Regions from separate parts of the Homo sapiens genome. Here region 2 is linked to region 1. Evidence: promoter capture Hi-C in 16 types of primary human blood cells and fetal thymus (Javierre and others, 2016). All regions are on one chromosome and are shown on one strand. Each heading gives the region's core, a stretch centred on a gene start or on the middle of the fragment in contact. The rest is flanking DNA. Distances are from core to core; before and after follow the strand shown. Region 1 holds the start of PALLD (palladin, cytoskeletal associated protein). Region 2 overlaps NEK1 (NIMA related kinase 1).

What was found. Contacts are between HindIII fragments. The CHiCAGO score rates a contact against its expected background, and 5 or more counts as called.
Region 2: a contact is called between a fragment that was not itself captured here and the fragment with the promoter of PALLD in region 1, in 2 of 17 cell types (naive B cells and total B cells). The highest score is 8.8, in naive B cells.

What each region holds. Positions count from the first base shown.
Region 1 is chr4:168,495,800-168,501,927 of GRCh38, reverse strand. It overlaps PALLD (palladin, cytoskeletal associated protein), which reads right to left and starts at 4,876. Exons shown (of 22, transcript NM_001166108.2): 1 at 4,734-4,876. All of the region lies in intron 1 of LOC107986198 (a long non-coding RNA gene), which reads left to right. The HindIII fragment of the contact is 1,197 bases long and covers 4,485-5,681 here.
Region 2 is chr4:169,555,587-169,561,782 of GRCh38, reverse strand. It overlaps NEK1 (NIMA related kinase 1), which reads left to right. Exons shown (of 36, transcript NM_001199397.3): 15 at 46-96; 16 at 229-303; 17 at 5,688-5,851; 18 at 5,932-6,063. Among named protein-coding and RNA genes, the nearest start is that of NEK1, 54 kb to the left of the region's middle. The HindIII fragment of the contact is 2,449 bases long and covers 26-2,474 here.

The DNA.
Region 1 (6,128 bases), core at 3,627-6,126:
GCTTTTATTGCATACAGCCTCAAACTAGCTTTGAAAGTTGTTAGGGTGCAGACATATAAGATAAAATGAAGTGCACATTCGCATGTTAATGTTCACATCTACAGACCACTGTTGTTTTGGGGGGCACACCCTTGGCGGGGAGGGTGGTGAAAGTCACAAGAGGAGAACATGCTCAGGTCAATGGTCCTTTAGGTTCCTTCAGAGTGTACCATGGGGGCAGCTGCCATGTCACCTCATGGCGCTCTGAAGGGAAATTCTCCCAGGTGAATTTCAACATGTGCCTAATGCCAAACTCTTCATCTTAAGCAAACATTTGGTGAAGCAAAGGTTTGGGAGGGTTGGCAAATATTGTGAGTCATTACAGAATCCTATCAACCTTGAATTGTCAACAGGCAGCTTATATCCTTATAAGCATCTTGGCTTATCCTAAGCAAATATTGCTTTCAAAGGTAAATGTCCACGGTGACCTATTTTGTTAACTCCCTGGGCATATCTCATTCTTCTTCTTCTCTTTTCCTTTCTTTTCAATTTTGCCCCTGCTGTAGTAGTGCGATGGTGTGATCATAGCTCACTGCAACCTTGATCTAGTGGGCTCAAAGGATCCTTTTACTTTAGCTTCCCAAGTAGCTGGGACTACAGGTGCATGTCACCAAGTCCTGCTAATTCTTTTTTATTTTCTGTAGAGATAGGGTCTCCTTTCATTGCCCAGTATTGTCTTGAACTCTTGGCCTCTGCAATCCTCCTGCCTCAGGCTCCTGAGTTGCTGGGATTACAGGCACAAGCCACCAGGCCTGGCTATTTCATTCTTTCTTAAGGAATTTTATGTCACTTAATTTATAGATTAATTTTAATTGTAATTTTATGGTTCGCAACTTCTCCCTAAGTTAGTGTCATCTGAATTCTGTTAGATTCATGGTATACTATAAAATATAGAACATATAAATAAGTTTTCATTGGTATGTATATTACACATTTGACATAAGTAATTTTGTGAATCTTATCTTGGCATGACTATCCTAATATTTGGCAAAACATTTATTTTTTAGATCCTGAATATGTACTATAGGCATAAATGTATATGGTTCACATTCATATATGAATATACAAATGATAGAAAAAATAGACAAATTTAAAAATTATGACTACCATTTGCCTTTAAAGTTGCTGACTTTTGGGGATAGATTACCTGAAAGCCAGCTCTATGATATTTGGGAGAATCCTCTATGTTGTCAGTTAAGAAATATTTATAGGGGGCTGGGCATGGTGGCTCACATCTGTACTCCCAGCACTGTTGGAGGCTGAGGCAGGAAGATCGCTTGAGCCCAGGAGTTCAATACCAGCCTGGGCAACATAGTTAGATTTCATCTCTACAAAAATACAAAAAAAAACCCAAAAACTTAGCTGAGTGTGATGGTGTGTGCCTGTAGCCCCAGCTACTCCAGAGGCTGAGGTGGGAGGATTGTCTGAGTCCAAGAGTTCTAGGCTGCAGTGAGCGATGATCAGGTCACTGCATTCCAGCTTGGGCAAAAGAGTGAGACCCTGACTCAAAAAACAAACAAACAAGACTTATGGGACCACCCCCTGGCATGATCCCCATGAATCAAGGCACTATTGACTGTTGAAATTACAACAGATTTCTTTGACGTGGAGGAACTTGGGGAAGACAAGGAATATACATGAGAAAGAGCAGAGTCTAGTAAGTAGAAAGAATTCAGTGACAATGCAAGTTGTTCCTACATAACAGCTTGGAAGTTACCTGCTTTCAAAAGTGAACAGTTTGATCCTCAGAACAATCCATGTAGTAGATGTTATTTTTCTATTTTATTGTTTGTATTACCCACAACTGCAGCAGAAAAAGTTTCAATTATTTGGCCCAACCTGAGCCATCAGAAAGTGGCAGACTCAGGGTGGAAGCCTGCATTTAACTGCAAAGTTTTCTTCTCTCATTGGAGATATTATAGGAAATTACTTTAAAAATTTAGATAAGGGGAAAACTTTTGAAGTCTGTTTGTGAAATACTTTGAGTCGATGAAGAACTGCTACAATTTTGAAAGAAAAAGTTTGATGTTAGAAAAACATTGACAGGCAGTAAGGATCACTTAATACCATGTACCACATTCAGCAGATTCTTTAGAGAGTCCAGGTGGAATAGCTAAATTCCCATAGTCATTTAAAAATGTATACATAGATAGGAATAAATATATGAAAATGGTTGGAATAACATACACCAAACAATCAACACTGACCTCTGTGGGGGGATTTAGGCAGGGGTAGGAGTTGAAAGGTGGGACATGCAGGGGGATCTTTTGTTGCTTATTTTGTAATTTTTGAAAAAAAGTTATAAGTGATTTTTAATTTTAGGTTTAGCAGTTTTATTTTCATATTTAAGCAATTACTAAAAAAGTAATGCAAACCATTGATACAAATATTAGATATTGAAATATCTTTTAATAAAACCTAAACTATGAAAACCAAAGTTAGAAAAGCTTTAACACTTAATTTTCATGCTTCAGAATCACAGGCAACCCCCCTAGACTAAATCAATAAAGTCCCTCCCTTCCTCCCTCCCCCCTCCCTCCCTTCTGCCTCCCTTCCCCCTTCTTCCATGTCTCCCTCCCTTCCTCCCTCCCATCCTCCCTCCCATCCTCCCTCCCATCCTCCCTCCCTTCCTCCCTCCCTTCTCCCTTCCTTCTTCCCCGTCTCCCTTTCTTTCTTCCTTCCTTTTTTTTTTTTTTTTTTTTTTTTTTGCTACAAAGGGTCCTTTAGGGCAAAAGTCAAACACGAAAATTTTATGAAATTTTATGTTTGATGCAGAAAATGCACTACAATTTTATAATTTATTTCTTAATAAATACACATGGATTATTTTCCTTTCTAATTATTAAATTGTCAATGCAGGCAGATATATTTATCCTACAGTTTTAAATATCTCTTTAAACAGCTTATTTAATCTCAATTTCAAGGACATAATCTAATAGCTCATTTAATGCAGAAACAGCCAAATAAGATACTTTACAGAGTTTTTGAAGTTATCCCATGTCCTGTTCATCTTATCAACTTTATTCACCATACTGAGTCCATTGCAAATATTTAGATTTTACTTCTGAATTATCCATTTCCATTACCATTATCCAATTCAGGGCTTTATTCTTCTCACTTAAATTCAAAACCTATTTACCAAATTTGCTTCTATATTCTCTAATATGATTTAACAGTTAGAAATTTTAGTCGAAGATACTTTGTTCAATCTTTGTTTTCTTTGCTGTAATTTCACCGGGACACAGTCATTAACTCTAGATGGCCTGAATTTCTAACTGGAGCTCAGTAATTGCAATACCCTTTGACAGCCTCCACACACATATTGTTTAAGAAGTGGAGCTCTTGTCTGGGCCTTGCAGATTCCACTTGGTATCTCTTAAAGAACTTGTCATATTTATTTTTAAACCTGAATAATGATTGCCCTCTACATTTTTAAAAAATGAGGTAAGGAGGTCAAAGTGATTGTACTTGTCCAGTGCAATCCAGATCCTCATTCTATTGTGAAATATGCTATAAGGCCAGTTTTAATATTCAGCTCTAGCAATAACAGAGAAACCCAGAGGAAGAGCTGACACAGAACCCCTGGGATACAGACCCTAATCCATACCAGATTCTAGGATGCCAGAGGACTAATTTATATTCTAGGAATGTGTAATCATGTATTTACAGGGCAGTTAGTGGCCAGATAAACCTCATCGGCCTTTTCTGCTGTTAGCAATAACTTGTCAAAGAGACTTTGATTTTAAAAATCTGAAAAAAAAATCTGAATAATTGAGGTGAGTATTCAAGTTCTTTCTGTGAGAAAAAACATTGGAAGGCACATTTATCATGAAATGAGGATTTAATTTCTGCATATATGTGATTGAATAGATTTGTAATAGTTTTATATTGCCAAGAAATGGCTTTATATGTCACCACATTATTCATACTAGAAGGCAATTAGTATTTTTAGCAAATGTTAATAAGTAATATGAGCCTGAAATCATTTTATGTCAACCTCCTATATTGGATTCAAGACAATTTCATGTGCAACTTAAAACAACATGATAAAAATTATTCTGTGATGTTTAAACTTGACTGGACTCGAGATTGCACTGTGGTTTCCCTTAGTAAGCGTTATCTTATTAAAAATATGTATGTAAATTTTATGCATGAATATAATTTAAAATACCTGCTGTTACTATCCCAACTCATTTAATTATGTCCAGTGAGTTACTTTTAGAATCTTTTGAAAGTGTAATTAACAATTTATAATGTTACTGAAATCTAAGGTCTATCACTTTAAGCCATCATCACTTATCTAGCTTAAATATGGGTGAGGGTCTAGAAAGCTGCGTTTTCCTTTTCTGTGAAACATAACACATACACGATCTTGACAAAAGCTGGCTCCATAAATACATTTAATCCTTTTGGAATTGATAGCACCATCTTAGCATGCTTAAGCTTATAACAGAAAGTGTAATTCTCTGACAGCAAAGGCAGAGATGAAGTGGGCAGGCAAATCTTACGTATTATCTGTTTTTGGCAAAACCGTAACATTCTCATTACGTTTCCTCTCCAAGCAAAAGAATAATTAAGGTATCTTGTAAATAGTATCATATCTTCAGAAAAACTTTTGTATTTTTAGTTTTTTTTTTTTTAAGTCCTTAAAATGTTGCCCTACTAGTTAGTATATTAAGATACACCTTACAGACCTTTTCAATGCTTGGTCAGTTTGAAGACTCCAGAGAGGTGATGAATTTCAGATGAGCATTTCTTCTTTTCTGGGAGAATGGAGGTTGTGGCCTTGCCTATTCATTAGAGACTGCCTGGTCCGTGGTCACTTTGAGGCAACTGTGGCCTCAGACTCTCATCTGTCCTCTTACTCCACTCAGCTATATTTGGTAACTGAGCTCATGTTTCAGCAGACTGCCACGATCAGGAATTCCAGCAGCGGGCTGGGAAGCACCCCCAGGACCGAGGGCTGGGTTCTTAGAAATAAAGCCACTTAACATAGAAGGAACTATATTTATGGATCTGATAAACGTAGGATTTAAACACATTCTTCTATACTTTGGACTTGTAGCTGGAAATCACCACCTGGACCTTTAACATGTTCTTAATCAATTTAAAGTACAGTATGTGACTCCAAGTAGAAAAAGTGATAATCCAAATGGAAGCTCTTCTTACTCTGATCTTCTGTTCTGTGCATTTAAATTTTGGTCATGTGCTAGATTACCCTAAAATAGTAAATTCAGTAACTGAAAATTTAGCCACCTGTCAAATTGAGTGGAAAGTCCCATTGTTCTCTTATTTCATATTGCTAATTAAAAATTGATATATGACTATGGTATGTATTAAAGGCCTTGTCTATAATAGTATTAAATAAGTATGAACACACAGGGACTGGATCTTATCCACATTGCAACATTGAGTTCTTAGCTCAATGCCTAGGACATCATGAGCATCTCTTAAATATTTGTCAAAGAAATAAATGAATGTTGAATGAATAATATTCAGGAAAAGTATCAACCCTCTTACAGTTGCAAAAAATGTTTCACAATCATTTAATATTTTGATCTTTCAAATGACAAATAGATATAGCAAGAGTTTAATATTTTGATCTTTTAAATAACAAACATAGATAGCAAGAAGAGAAAGCTTTTCTGTTTAAAGGTCAGGTAGCAGAATCAAATATAAGGGGGGCAAAAAGAGCAACACAAAAGCTCCCAGTTAACTTGGAAATGGGGTGCTGAGTCTTCCTTTGTCTGGGTAAGACCATCACATTTGATTCAGTTTAATATCTAAATATTTTTTCTTTTCTGATGTTAGAAAATTTGTGAAGGTCTGCTATTGTATTTTCTTTATAGGCCAAACTGGTCCTTTAGAAATGGTCCTTTCTGTGAGTGGATACTTCTGTGGGTCATTTCATCTATTATATTAATTAAGAAGTGATTTTAAAATTTATACTTACGGCTGGGCGTGGTGGCTTATGCCTGTAATTGCAGTACTTTGGGAGGCCGAGGTGGGTGGATCATGAGGTCAGGAGATTGAGACCATCCTGGCTAACACAGTGAAACCCCCTCTCTACTAAAAATACAAAAAATTAG
Region 2 (6,196 bases), core at 1-2,500, 1.1 Mb before region 1:
ATAGGTTCAAGAGTTGTAAGAAGCTTGTCTTTAAAATTGTTACAGATTATTAGTTTAATGAAGGCTGAACAAATGAAAAGGCAAGAAAAGGAAAGGGTAAGAGGATAATCTATTAAATATACTTTTTTCTTAAGGAATACACTGATTTTCAGTTTATTGCTAAATGTATTACGTGTATTTTATATTAAATACTTGAAATGGTGTTTTGTTTATTTCTTTTCCCCAAAGTTGGAAAGAATAAATAGGGCCAGGGAACAAGGATGGAGAAATGTGCTAAGTGCTGGTGGAAGTGGTGAAGTAAAGGTAGGCATTTTATACCAATATGGTTATACTACCATTTTCCCCTCCAGTTCCACCTTGTTCTATAAAATGCATGTACTTGGGATTTTCTTTCTTTCTTTAGTGTACAATTAATTTTTACCTAGAATTCTTTAACATTTATTATGAATACTTAGCTTTCCTGCATGTATCTGATATGTAACTTGTGTTGCTGTTATGTGACTATACTCAAAATTGCTTTAAAAGTTTTTTGTGAAGACTATGATAACATTATTCCTGTCAGGAATTTTTAAAAATTATGTACAATTCATGACACTGCAGCCTAAAATCGTTCTGTAATTTCATGTAGCCTTGAAGATTAAGTTCTCAGAAGATGCTTCTTAATCTGATCCCTGTTGTCTCTCCAACTTCATCACCATCCATTCCCTACCACATACTGTATGCTCTATTCATGCTGAAATGAAGACTATATTTGTAGTTTCATTACTATATGTGGTTTGCCAAATCTCTTTGTCTTTGCACTTGTGTTTCCTTTTACTTAATAGCACTCTCCATCCCTCCTCACCCTCACGTCCCACCTCCATCCATTTAGCTAAATAACCAGTTACATAGATGAGTTAATCTAAACATTCCTTCTGGGTAGATCCACCCTATTTAACCTTGGGCACATTACTGAACTTTTCTGAGCTTTGGTTTCTTGATTTAAAAAAAAAAAAAAGTTTTTTTTCCAAGAACAGTGCCTGGAACCTGTCTGGCAAGGGCTTCTATAGTAATTTCCCTTTCCTTTCTTTGTTCTGCCAGTCTGAATCTTATACTTCCTCTTTTATTCATACAGCATCCTATACATATCTCTATTTGTAGTTGGTAGAATTCTAAGATGGTCTCCAAGATTCTCAACTGCGGTATACACACCTTGTGTTATTCCATTCCCTTGAGTATAAGTGGTACCTGTAAATACTGTAGTATAGCAGCTCACTTGATTAGGTTATGTTATATGGCAAGTGGTGATGGGATGGTCTCTCCCAGGGTTACGTTAACATATAAGACTCCTTCATAGCTGACTGGAAGGGGAAAAGAAATTAGAGAGAGAGAATTCTGCTCACCTGGAAGATAGTAAACATTCATGTGGCAAAACAGTAGAGATGACCTCTACAAGTAGTGGTCTCTAATGAGCAACTAGCAAGAAAATTGTGGTCCTAGTCATACAGCCACAAGGAAATTAATTCTGCCAAGAACCAGTAAACTTGGAAGAGATCCTGAGTCTCAGGTGAGAATTGTAACCCTGGCTGACACCTTGATTTCTGCCTGGTGAGATCCTGAGGAGGGGACCCAGCTAAATGCACCCAGATTCCTGAGCCAGGGGAACTGAGATTATAAATAGATATTGTTTTAAGCTACTAAATTTGTGATAGTTTGTTATACAGCAATAGAAGATGAATGCACTAATTTGTATCATTGAATAAACTGTAAGTCAATACATCTTTTTATTTTTTTGAGATGGAGTTTCGCTCTTGTTACCCAGGCTGGAGTGCAATGGCACGATCTCAGCTCACTGCAACCTCTGCCTCCCGGGTTCAAGCGATTCTCCTGCCTCAGCCTCCGGAGTAGCTGGGATTACAGGCATGCACCACCACGCCCAGCTAATTTTGTATTTTTAGTAGAGACGGGGTTTCTGCATGTTGGTCAGGCTGGTCTCGAACTCCCGACCTCAGGTGACCTGCCTGCCTCGGCCTCCCAAAGTGCTGGGATTACAGGCGTGAGTCACCGTGCCCAGCCTAAGTCAATACATCTTCAAACTATAAGTTTCACTCATGTACACCCATTAATCTTGATATTTAGATGTACAATAGATACTTGTCAAATTGGATCAATTATAATTCTTGGTTTTTTTTCTCCAAAAGTTATAATTTGAATAAAAGTTTGTTTTATCTAGACATATACATTCTGCCCTGGATTTATAGATTTGTTTTTCAGTCTCTTGAGGTGCAGAAGTTCTTCATATCATAGTAATAATTCATTAAGAGTAACTTTTTCCAAATTTGTATTAATATAGATTATACAGTGTTTTTAGTAGTATAATTTTATCTTACCTTTAAGTAGAACTTATTACCTCCTGAATGATCAGGAATGACTTAGAATCTGGTCCATTCTAAAATAACTAACCTCACATCTTACCTGATTGGAAAGAGAAAGCTTATCAACTTGTACTCCTTCAGATCTCAAGCATTTTTTTATCAAGTCCGTGATTAGCACTGAAGTTTTGATGATTTATTCTTCTCCCTTTTGTGTAATAAAGTGCTTTTTCCTATGATGTCTAATACAGTATTAATCAGTTTTATTAATGTTTAATAACTGAGACAATTTTCAAGTTACATACTGTGTACTGAATAGATTTCTGCATCACTTTATAAACTTCTGTAATGCTTTCATTGAAGATTAATAAAACAATTTATTTTCCATGATTTAAAGGAAATTCTATGTTAGTTTCTATATTTATTCCTCATTGAATTTGAAATATTTTAACTTGTTAGGCTGTTTGATTTCTACATAGTTGATAAGGACCTGGAGGCTCAGTATCATATGAATCAAATTAAGGAGATTCCCCAAAAGAAAGATAAAACTAAAACTAAAGTATTTCAAAATTAATACTATTATTACGTACTTCTAAATAAGAGGCATTTTTATTCATAGTATAAATATCCAATGTAAATGTTTTTGATTATTTAGTATCTGCAAAATCTGGACCTTCTTTGTTTTATCCATTTTTAATGTGTCTTTTATGAATGTGTTTTTAGAAAAATTATATATTCCACATGTATGGTTATATGGTGATTATAATATGGAAGAGGTGTATCTCTTGTTTGAAAATATATTGGAATACCATTTGGCAGTAAAAAGAATAGCCTGTTTATACATGCAACACCATGGATCAATCTTAAAAACCTGTGAGTGAAAGAAACCAGATAAAAGAGTACATATTTATGATTTTATTTACATGACATAATGGGAAAGGCAAATCCAACCTGTAGTGACGGAAAGCAGATCAGTGGTTGCTGACAGTGCGAGCATTTACTGCAAAGGAACACAAGGGAACTTTCTGGGGTAATGGATATGCTTTTGATTGTAGTAGTGGTTATGTGAGTGTCTACATTTGTCAGAATTCAGCCTGTGCTTACAATTGGTGAATTTTTATTGTACATAAATTATGTCTCAAACAAACATATTTCATCAGTATTCTCATATAGTATTTTCAACATTATTTTGAGTATGAGCATCTTCTGAGATGTTTACCTACTTTTGTTTTTGCTAAAGAGAAATGGAGCACTCAGTCAAGTTAAGATGATATTAGCATTGGGCTAAATTCAAAGAGTAACCAGTTTCATAGGAAATATGACCACCTTATAACTGAATTCTGATTCTTGACTTCAGATGTACATTTTGAGGATGTATGTAAGGACCACCTTGATGGAAGACAAATTTTGTCTTATTGGGTTACACTGAAGTTTCTTTTATTGGATTCTGACATTTTTCTTTGTTTCTTTTATTATTATTTTATTTATTTACTTATTTTTTGAGACAGGATCTCACTCTGTCACCCAAGCTAGATTGCAGTGGTGGGATCATGACTCACTGTAGCCTTGACCTCCTGAGTTCAAGCAATCTTCCCATCTCAGCCTCCTGAGTAGCTGGGACTACAGACACATGCCACTGCGCCCGGCTAATTTTTTGTATTTGCAGGGATGTTGTTTCGCCAATTTGCCCAGGCTAGTCTCGAACTCCTGAGCTCAAGCAATCTGCCCACCTCAGCCTCCCAAAGTGCTGGGATTACAGGCATGTGCCACCATGCCTGGCCTTTGTTTCTTTTTTTAACCAGGCATTTTCCTTAAGATGTTATCACCTGGAAGTTTTCCCTTTTTTACTCTCATTATTGTGGCTTCTGTTCTCATCACTTCACACACTCAGAAAATGGTTTTTTTAAAGGCTTCCACTCAGCCTTAGTCATATCTGGTGGTCTTATTCTCAGATAAGAAAAGTTAAAATAAGTTGACCTTTGCATTTGAGGTTATTGATTTCTTCTTAATGAAATTCTTTCACCATGACTTCTGTAGCATTATACAGTTTTTATTTACTTTTACCCTTATCCTTTTCTGACATCTCTATTTTTTACTATGAGTTTTCCATGTGGTTGAGTTCTTATGTCTCGGTGGTTGAGTCTTTAAGTCTTTGCCTTTATCCTTTGTCATTCCTGCAGAGAATCCAAACTTCCTTCAGCAGTTACTTTTTCATTGATTGCCTTTCTTGGCTTTCCAGGCTTCTTGGCTTGGTGTCAGGGCAGCAACATCCTTCTAATTAATTCCTCTGCCTTACTTTCTTATTTCTGCTTACCATGCATAATATTGACTTACTGACCTTTAAAACTCTGTTGATATACTACTGCTGCTAGAAACTTTATAAATCCTTTCTATTGTTATTTATTATTTGAACGCAAACACCAAGGGCAGATAGCATTTAGCATTTAGCTATACCAAGCTTTTATAGCCAAACTTAATACTTAATACTTTGCCTTCCTTGTATTTGTCATCATACTTCCTTCCTCTTCCACCTTCCATACCTAAATATATACATACATTGATTATTTTTACTTTAATGCCTTGGCTCATATTTACTCTCCTTACATTGCTATCAAGACCAGATTAAACAATATCTCTCCCCAAGGCCTTTTTTCTAAATAAGGATTTTACTGTTGATTTTTTTTTTTTTTTTTACTGTTTTGTGGATTTGCTCAGCACTTACTACTTTGGAATTTCTCTGTTGTCACTTGTTTACCATAGAATTGAATGTTTTTCTAGTTTTGTGCTATTTTTCCCAACTTACTTGGAAACTAAAGATAGATATGACTTTTTGCCTCTTTTATATACATATAGAACATGTTTTAATAATGTTTATACCTTCATATCTGCTTGGTGAATTTAAAGATTTGGGGTATATTAAAAGCCATATGCAGATGTTTTTGTTAAATATAATTCTGAGTGTTATATAAAAGGAGGCTCTCATAAGCTATACATAAACAACGGAACAGAATTACATGAAATGTATATTGGAAGCTTGTTTCAAAACCTGTTAATTAAGATCAAATTTTTCCATATTTACATGAAATTAGTGTCATTTTGCTGTTTTTGTTTGTCACATTATGCTTTATTATCAATTACAAAGTATACTGCTTTTTGGTTGTTAATAGTTATAATAGGAAAACATTTTGCTTTAGGCTTTATGTTTGTTAGTATGTTCATATTAAGTAATTACTTTTTAAAAGTGAAGCATTGAAATTTACTTTTTCTTTTGAGACTAGTACAGGCCTGTTAGGCCTTATAAGATAAACATGTGAGAGCTCTTTGTTTAATCCCTAGGCTCCTTTTCTGGGCAGTGGAGGGACTATAGCTCCATCATCTTTTTCTTCTCGAGGACAGTATGAACATTACCATGCCATTTTTGACCAAATGCAGCAACAAAGAGCAGAAGATAATGAAGCTAAATGGAAAAGAGAAATATATGGTCGAGGTCTTCCAGAAAGGTATGGCTATGTTCTGCAGAAGTTGCTTATGCTTTGCTTCTGAGATAGTAATGAAAGTCACTGTGCATATTTATCTACAGAGGAATTCTGCCTGGAGTTCGTCCAGGATTTCCTTATGGGGCTGCAGGTCATCACCATTTTCCTGATGCTGATGATATTAGAAAAACTTTGAAAAGATTGAAGGCGGTGTCTAAACAAGCCAATGCAAACAGGTTGGACTGTGATGATCCATGAATTCATCCATGTGTGTAATTTTGTCGTTTGTCATACATAGCTTAGTACCTACACTTTGTGGATGTTTTCTCCATTGTTCACATATGATGTTTTTTGCCTCTTGGGTACAAT